Regions from separate parts of the Homo sapiens genome. Here regions 2 and 3 are each linked to region 1. The links are contacts of gene promoters, found by promoter capture Hi-C in blood cells and fetal thymus (Javierre and others, 2016). All regions are on one chromosome and are shown on one strand. Each heading gives the region's core, a stretch centred on a gene start or on the middle of the fragment in contact. The rest is flanking DNA. Distances are from core to core; before and after follow the strand shown. Region 1 holds the start of THSD7B (thrombospondin type 1 domain containing 7B). Region 2 has its middle 110 kb from the start of HNMT. Region 3 has its middle 140 kb from the start of HNMT.

Evidence for each region. The method cuts DNA at HindIII sites, captures the fragments that hold promoters and counts their contacts. A CHiCAGO score of 5 or more calls a contact.
Region 2: a fragment that was not itself captured here is called in contact with the fragment with the promoter of THSD7B in region 1 in 1 of 17 cell types (M2 macrophages); the score reaches 5.3 in M2 macrophages.
Region 3: a fragment that was not itself captured here is called in contact with the fragment with the promoter of THSD7B in region 1 in 2 of 17 cell types (M0 macrophages and M2 macrophages); the score reaches 7.4 in M0 macrophages.

Annotation. Positions count from the first base shown.
Region 1 is chr2:136,764,133-136,767,029 of GRCh38, reverse strand. THSD7B (thrombospondin type 1 domain containing 7B) reads right to left here and starts at 1,485. Exons shown (of 28, transcript NM_001316349.2): 1 at 1,343-1,485. RefSeq lists an enhancer at 1,002-1,503. The HindIII fragment of the contact is 11,987 bases long and covers 1-1,846 here.
Region 2 is chr2:137,848,076-137,850,972 of GRCh38, reverse strand. No RefSeq gene overlaps it. Among named protein-coding and RNA genes, the nearest start is that of HNMT, 110 kb to the left of the region's middle. The HindIII fragment of the contact is 6,731 bases long and covers 1-2,897 here.
Region 3 is chr2:137,824,512-137,827,408 of GRCh38, reverse strand. No RefSeq gene overlaps it. Among named protein-coding and RNA genes, the nearest start is that of HNMT, 140 kb to the left of the region's middle. RefSeq lists an enhancer at 633-692. The HindIII fragment of the contact is 4,775 bases long and covers 1-2,897 here.

The DNA of each region.
Region 1 (2,897 bases), core at 236-2,735:
AAACACACACGTTCACACGCACGCGCATGTATACACACACACACAAACACACACACACCCCACCACAGTCTGGTTGGCATGAGCCCTACCTGCATGGGTTACCATTTCCATGATAACAGAGCACTCACAGGTGTACCGCTGAGAAACACCAGGCAGACCGTCATTTAAAGAGCTCCAAGGAGTCTGAGGGTGGGAAACTGCCGGCTTTCAGCAGACCACCCTGGCAATGAACAGAGCGCCAAGGAACCCTGGTATCTTCCGTAGAATATGCCACGGTCCCATAATCTTAGTGGAACTTCACCTTGACTGTACAGTATTGAATCGCAATACCTCTTATGGGAAGCTCTGAGCTCAGACATTCCAAAAGAAAAAAGTACCACCTTCGCCAACGAAAGTTTTTTTCTTGTCTTTAAAAAGGGATAGAGTGAGAGAGCTTAACGCCCCCTCCTCAACATTCCCTCGTCCCCTGCAAAGTTTTCCAACTTCAAAATACGCGGTCACCAAAGAGCGGGGTTCATTTGCTTATTCAAATAACTTTAATACTATGGGACATGTAAGACAGCAAAGGGGACAGGTGCAGATGGGCGATGCAGTAGAAAATATGCCTGTCCCCCCCTCCCTGCCCCTCACTCTCAAGCCCCGTTCCCAGTTTCCTCTCCACAAACAGCAGGATATCACGTCCGAGCCCAGCTTGCCCCTAGCCACTCGCAGGGACAGGGGAAATGTAAACTGTTGCTACAGCCTCCTGACACTCCACCGATAAATCAGAGGAAGCTGCAAAACTTCTTGGCTTGCTCAGCTATCCTCCACTGGCACTGAACGCCTATGCACAGATTTCGCAGTCAGCGCTACGGGAAAGGAAACCCTCAGTCAACCTGTTTGCAAAGCCTGCAGAACAACTCCCGGCCTTTCGATTTTGGGCGCCGAGGCTCTCCGCGCAGGACGGGAAACCCCCGGTTTCCTTCATCAGTATCCCTCAAACCAAGCTGGAGGTGAAGGGAACAGAGCTCCTGCTGCCCGGGTCCCAAGGTTCGGTCCCGTTGCATGAGGTCGGTGCTCAGGTCGCCGCGTGGGGCGTCCCCGCCCGCCTAGAGGGTCTCCGCACACTGCGCCCCGGGCAGCCCACGCTTCCCGCAGCCCCAAGCCAGAGGCGTCCGAGAAGATCCGCTTCCAAGTTCCCGCGTCTGGCTGGGAGAAGGGGCGACGATGGCTGTCCGGCGAGGAAAGAGCAAAGTCTGCGCCGGCAGCGCGCCCCCTTCCCCGGCGCTGCCACCCCGCGCCCCAGTCGGCCGGCCAGGGGGCCCGGCATCCCCGACTCGGGGCTCCGCGTGCTTGCACTCACCCGTCTCGCCAGAGCCGCCGCCGTAACCTCTGGGAGCCGCTGAGCCCCGAGCTTCCCGAGCGCAAGAAAGATGGTGGTGTGTGTCGGAAGACCACCCATTCCAGCGTCTGGCAACCCGGCGGCGACTCTGGCTCCTCAGCACTGAAGGAGGAGGAGGAGGAAGAGAAGGAGGAGGAGGAAGAGAAGGAGGAGGAGGAGGAGGAGGAAGGAACGGCGCAGTCAGACGCCATCTGCTGTACACCTCTGCGCAGCCATTGGCTGCCTGGTGCGTCCGAGAGCCGCGGGGCGCGGGGCCGCGGGGAGCCACCTTGCGCCTCGCCTACCCCGGCAGCTGTTCCCCACCGCCCCCTCTTTCTCCCCCCTCTCCTCCGCCTCCTACCGCCTCTGCCGCGCACCCGCACGACCCTCGGCTCAGCCTGCTCCCCAAGGCGAGCGACCGCGGGCGCGCTGGCCTGGACCTCAGTTCCTCTGCTCCCCGCAACTGTTTGCCGCAACTTTGAAGCTTCGGGGTGCCGGTGCGGGCTGGGTAAGGGGACTCCCCAGCTGAGCTCAGCCCGGAGTACCCAAGCCACTGAGCCCAGGAGAGGGTCGAGCGCTTTGCGCCTCGGAGGTCCATGAAGTGATGGGGGAAGAGAGCAAGAAAGAGTGGGGGTGCCCTAGGCCCCTGTTGATAACGCGCCCCAACACGCACACATGCGCGACACTCCGACACACAGTAAAACACACACACCGAGCCATCCCGCAAGGTCCGGATGGTCTGGCGTTCCTCTGCAGTCCCCGGGCACGAGAGGGCTTCGGTGTTACTAGGAGAAAAGACAAAGAAAATCCTATCTGGGGAGTACCCCTAGCAGCATACGTGGGGGAGAGAGAAAGGGAAACATTGTGGTGACTCCGGGAAACGCCGGGAGCTGGGTGCATACCTGCCTGGACATCCCCCCTGTTGCGGGGCTCCCAGCGACTGTCAGCCCACGCCCACCAGAGCCTGGGAAAACCCCTAGCTCTGGGGCCTCTGTTTAAAGGATTTGCAGTCCCGGGGCGCGGGGACCGGAGTTGCGGGAAGGAGCGCCTTAGGCTCCTGGGTAGCTCATGCCGGAAGCAGCAAAGGAGGTGGAGAGTCCGAGTCAGCCCAGGTGAGGCAGGAGTGCAGACAGCGGAGAGCACGTGGGCAGTCGAGGAGCAGAGTCACAGCTCAGAAAGTCGTTTGCTTACTCTCTGACACTTGTTCCAAACCCTTCTGGTTTTTGACACCTTTGATCTAGGGAACTTCTTAAGCTTGTTCAGAGAGATGAAGTTGCTTCAAAAGGGAGAAGGGGCGGGGGGAAGCATGAGGACTACCTATTGCCAATTACAGGATATTTTGCCTGTCAAATCTCTTTAAATGTGTGAGCCCAGCGACAGCAGGGATTGTATCTTTTCTATTTTATCCAATGCCTGGCACACCATGGGTGCTTAAAATGAAGCAAAATAATAATGATAAAATTAAAGCTTGATGTCATAGAGCAAATTAGATTCAAGAGATAAATAGAGAAGCTAGGATCTGTCACAGATAAAAAGA
Region 2 (2,897 bases), core at 227-2,726, 1.1 Mb before region 1:
AGATTTGTCTAGTTGGGACATTTCATATGAATGGAATCATACAATATGTGGGTTTTTGTGACCAGCTTCTTTCACTTAGCCTAATGTTTTCAAGGTTCATGATGTTGTAGCATGTGTCAGTACTTCATTCCTTTTTACTGCAAAGTGATATTCTATTGCATAGATATACCACATGTTGTTTAACTATTCATCAGTCCGTGCATATTTGTACAGTTTCTGCTTTTTGGCTATTATGAATAATGCTGCTATAACCTATGTACAAGTTTCTGCGTGAATATATATCTTCACTTCTTTAGGATATATAGGAGTGAAATTGTTGGGTCATGTACTAACTCTAATGTTTAACATTTTGAGGAACTTTGCCAAGAATATTCAACAAAAAAATTGGCTGTAATTGTGTTGGTGACATTTTCTGTAGTATCGTGGAGTTTATAAGGCAAGGAAAGTTTTATGAAGATCATAAATATTTTCTCTACATGATTAATTGAGAGATACCATAATTTTGCTCAAAAGGTAAATTTACTATTCTAAAAATATTTATAGATATAAAGAAAAATCTAGAAAAAAATAAAATCTATGTTTTGGACCAATTTTATTCACAGTTATGGCCAGGTTGGATGATTATTACAAATATTTAGAGCTTAAGCTCCAAAGTGGTGTAGATCTTATAAATCATCACTTCAAATGTCTATATCTTACATTTAAAGAGATAAAATCATTATCTTCCAAATATGACAGAATTAGAGATTAATCTTGGGTTTTTATATTGTTGAAACCTCATATTTTATCATTAAGATCATGTATTTCATGTTGTGTGTGTGTTTTTGTTTTAGTAGGGGTTATCTGCTCAAAATTAATGTCTATCTCTCTAATAGAACAGAGAGGGTTTGGGGTACACATAGATTTTTTAAAAATAAAGCTAGACCTGTTTGGGGTGGATAAAATAACAGATATATTCAGTTTTTATGATGATAATGTGTAATGATCTTGATTTTATATGGAAATTTTAATTAATGCCCATGCGACAAATTATCTTCAATATAATAGAGTTTCTATATGCTATTTATCATGATAGCGCTTTAAAATTTTTAAATTTATTTTTTTTTAGCAATTTATGCTATAAGGGTATTACTGTATTCATGGTTTACATAGAAACCACAACTCAGAATGGTAATTGACTTATTTAAAATCAAATGGTAAACGGCTGTAATTTTAATGCTGATTTCCTAATTCCATACCTAGATTTTTGTAGCACCGCTGCAAAGTTTGGAGGATATAAGAAAATGTGCTTTGCAGATTAGTTGCCCATAATAGTGACTTCCAGTAAACTATGATGTCTTCATGAGGCTATTATTTAAAGTTTATTATACTTCTGCAGATTACCTAGCAAGAGCTTTGGTGAGTCCTGTAAGAGGTGATGCCTCTAAGAGATACCTGCTGGAATCATGGAATCCAGTCCAGGGCTTCTCAAGGGGCTTGTAGAGATAAGTTTCCTGTAATTGCAAACCTTATTTGAAGGGCTGTGAATTCTGCTAGATATGTAATTTGTGATAAAGAAAATGCTTCAAATTAAAACTATCCCCTTCATTTTTGTGTCACAGATATAGTCATTCAATGATGTTTTCTATAAAAGTACTGACAATTAATATTGCAATTTTCAAGCAAAAGCCCTTAAGCAACAAGCATTCATCCAAATACTTTTCTTTTCAATAAACACTATCAACAAAAGACATTAGAAGTAATGATTTCTAAGGGCCACAACAGTGGTTTTATAAATTAAATATCTTCAGGACTCTCTCTGAGAACAGTAATCAATATTTTATTTTATTATTTTAAGCCATTTTCTATTCTTTTAAATCTCAACTTTCTCTGGTTTTTCTCCCTCCTTCCCCTCCTTCCTTCCTTCCTTCCTCTTTTCCTTTTTCCTACCTTCCTTTCTTTCTTCCTATTTTATACTTATTTTTTCTTTTGCATTTATATGTTAATTTTCTTGTGTGCTTGTAGCTTCTTGGGTTTTTTTTTTTTGGCTCATATTTAAAAACAAGGCATTTGAAACTTGATGGGGACTTTGGTTTACATGAAGGAGGATTGATAATCAATAGGAATAACTAAAGAGAAGTAATCTCATTAGTGTCAGGGAAATTCTATATGATTGAAACTGAATATCCTTGATCCAGGATACAAATGCCCACAGTAGTTGAGCTAGTTCACCAAATAGTGTGTAGACTTATTGCTGTGTATGCTGATCTTAGGAAGAAGAGAAGATAGGCACTGTGGTCAAGCCGCCCCCTGGAAACATCTCATCCTTAATAACATTATTTTGGTAATTGCTGGACTCAAGGGATACAATTATAAAACTTGGACTTTGGTCTAAAATAAGCCCATACTGTTTTACCATTGTCGAGCCAAAACTTTTTATTACTGGAGACAAGTTTATTCTCTAGTTTTTACTATTTCCACTAGTGGTGCTACTGTTCTCCTTTTATCTCATGTTTAAACACTTGAAGTTGTTCTCGAATCCTCATCTCTCCTCTTGTATTCAATTTAGTAATTTATCTTACATCTTTTCCTCTTTTCCATTTGCCCTGGAGCCACCTTTTTCCTGGACTTCTATAATGTTATTTTAATAAATGAATCATGTTTGTCATGAGTATAACCATGCCTGAAGAAAGATTGTCCAAACACGCTGGTGCCAGGCAGAATGAGGTTCAAATCCTGGCTTTGCCCGTAAGTATCTACATTAAATAAGGAAATTACTTATCCTCTTTAAGTTATTATTTCTTTCGTAAAGTTGAGATACTCATAGTTCCTACCACATGGGGTTTGGAGGAATTTTAAATAAGAAAAGGAATGTAAAATGCTTCACACAGTACCTGCCACATAGTAGGTCTTAAATA
Region 3 (2,897 bases), core at 197-2,696, 1.1 Mb before region 1:
GAGGGCAGTAACTGAGGCTCCCCTGCCTGGTCTCCCATCCTCCTCTTGGTACCTGGACTCCATCATTGGGAATCTTGGCAAACAGCTCTTCAATAAAATGGTGAAGGCAGAAAAATGTGGGCTCTTAAGGAGAGAGCAAGTCGGGGAGGCTGTAGAAGCCATAAATTCAGCAACATAAGAGATGAGAAATTTGAGGCTTTGGGGCTGAGCTGGCAAAAGCAGTTATTCAAATCAAGCTCAGTTCCTCCCCAGAACCAGACCCCTTTTGGGGCCTCCAGGATGACCTCACTTCCACTTTGCTCCAGCTAATGGGGTAACGTAGAATTCCTCTCAGGAAAAATGCTGAGCTTTTCAACCAAAGCTCACAAGCAATGGCCCTTCTCAAAGGAATTAATGAATAGGAACAGTAAGGAATGACTAAGAGGGTCTTCTTGTGGAGACAAATGATTGGTGAGTGTTGTTTGCAATCATTCTTTTTCATTGGTTCCAGCAGCTGCCTCTCTGTGGTTAGGTAGGGTTAACCCTAAACCTCTATGTACTGTGCCTCAAATCAAGTAGCAAAGGCCTGACTCATAATGAAAAAGGCCCTTGTAATTGACACTGGGATCTCCTCTTGTTTAGCACCGACTCAGACTCCTGTTCTTCACCAGCATCCTCTCTTCTCCTTCTTACCAAATATGTGGGTCTACTTGGCTTCTCTGCTATTTTGAAGGAAAATACATCAGGAAAAAAGGGGAGAGGGAGTTAAGCAACTCCCAGAGAAACACTGGTCCTGACCTTTAAGGCTTTGGTTCACTTGTCAAAAGAGTCCAGCAGTCAGTCCCCAGAGCCACAGAAACTAAAGTGTGGTCATTGCAGCACAACTACGCTGACCCTTGCTGGACTCCAGCTCCTTGGCTTTTTAAAAAATGAGTCGGCAACAAAGGAAGATCCCTAAGCCAGGTTATCCCATTAACCACTGGATAGCAAGAGGGAAAATAATAACATTTAGTCATTTGTCAACATGCTATCATCTGGTCAGTGCAGGTGCCATTCTCCTGAAACTGTGGCACAATGAAGGATATATATACTTGGATTGGACTCACTGGGTTGTATCACAGCTCTGCTACTTACGATCTGAGTGACTTTTGGCTGTTAAAAGATAAAGAGTTTATTTGAGCAGATAGTAATTCATGAATCAGACAGCTTAAAACTAGAAATGGTTCATAGCACTAAAAAGGGACATGAGGGGAAGTTTTATAGGGTGAATGTAAGAGCAAATAAAATAAATTATCTGATTGGCTAAAGTGTGAGCAAATGCCTTATTTAGAATATCTTAACAGGAAGTTCAAGACAATATTACCTAATGCCCACTAGCCTGCCTGTGATTGGCTGAGATTAAGTTTTGTTTTCTTTTAAGTTCTGTACCAGGTTTTGGCTTGCTTACTCTAGAACCCAGGGTGTCAGAGCCATCTCAGGCAAATTTTCTGCCATTTAATTATTTTAGCTGGGCATTGCTTCTCTGTGCATCAGCTTCTCTCTGTGAAATGGGGTAATAAACTTGCTGTGATGATTATATGATTAATTCATGTAAAGTACTTAAAACAGTTCCTAACACATAATAAGCATGTTTTACTTGTTTGTCATTATTATCCCAAAGTTCCCCATAACCTTCTAGTTGTTATCCCCTTTGGCAACAATTTACATTGTGGATTATGCATTTTTCTCAGAACTTGTTTCTTGTTTTTCATAACACACATCCTGTCTTCCCTAATTTCTCCCATTCTCCATATTCTTACTCCTTCCCCTTTCCCACTACTCACTCAAATTGGTCTGTCTCAACATTTTCTTCAGGGCTGCCTTTTTTTTTTATATGTCTGTGTTCCCTTTGAACAATTTTGTTTTCTTCCTGTGGCTCCTTCTCCCATGACTAGGTGGATAAACCAAAGCCTCTGTGGCTGCTCTCAGAAAGACCTTTTGGTTGGAATTTGCTCACTGACTCAGTGGTTGATCAGCTTTGCATCAGAAGACTATCTTCATTTGGATTTTGCCACTTACTAGCGAATGGTATAATTAGCTATTTTTAATATCGCTAAGTCATAGTTGTTCTCCCAGTAAAACGGGGATAATAATAATAGTTTCCACTTCAAAGAGTAATTATAAGACTTAAATGGGCCGAGTGCGATGGCTCATACCTGTAATTCCAGCACTTTGGGAGGCCGAGGCAGAAGAATTGCTTGAGCCCAGGAGTTGGAGACCAGCCTGGGTGACATGGCGAGACCCCATCTCTAAAGAAAAATCGAAAGAAATTCGCTGAGTGTGGTGCATGCCTGTAGTCCCATCTACTTGGGAGGTTGCAGCAGGAAGATAGCTTAAGCCCAATAGTTGGAGGCTGCAGTGAGCTGGGATCGTGCCACTGTACTCCAGCCTGGGTGACAGAGTGAGACCCTGTCTCAAAAAAGAAAAAAAGAAAAGAGTAGGCCTGAGGCAAAAAACTACACAAAATATGTTTAGCTATTCTATTTGACCTCTCCAATCCAAAATGTCTAAAATCCAGACTTACTGCCTTCTTTCCACCCAGACTAGCTCTTCTAAATTTCTTAGCACTGCTAATGGTACTGGCACATTTTTTAGTTACCTGTTTTCGTGGTTGAGTCATCCTGACTCTATTATCCTTTTCACTCCTCATCTGAACATTGAATGGGTCAGGATAATCTTGACCTTTGTTATGCAGGTTCTTGCTAAATTGAACTTTGAATGTTGTTAATCTTTTCAGTATGCCTTAAGCCCTGCCCTCCTTTTTTCTTTAAAATTCTGTTTGGCTTTAGAAATTTTTTGGAATTTGCAACTTCCATTAACCTTGTTAATTCCAATCCTTTGATGGTATAATCAGCATAATTGTCCAAAAAGTGACCCTG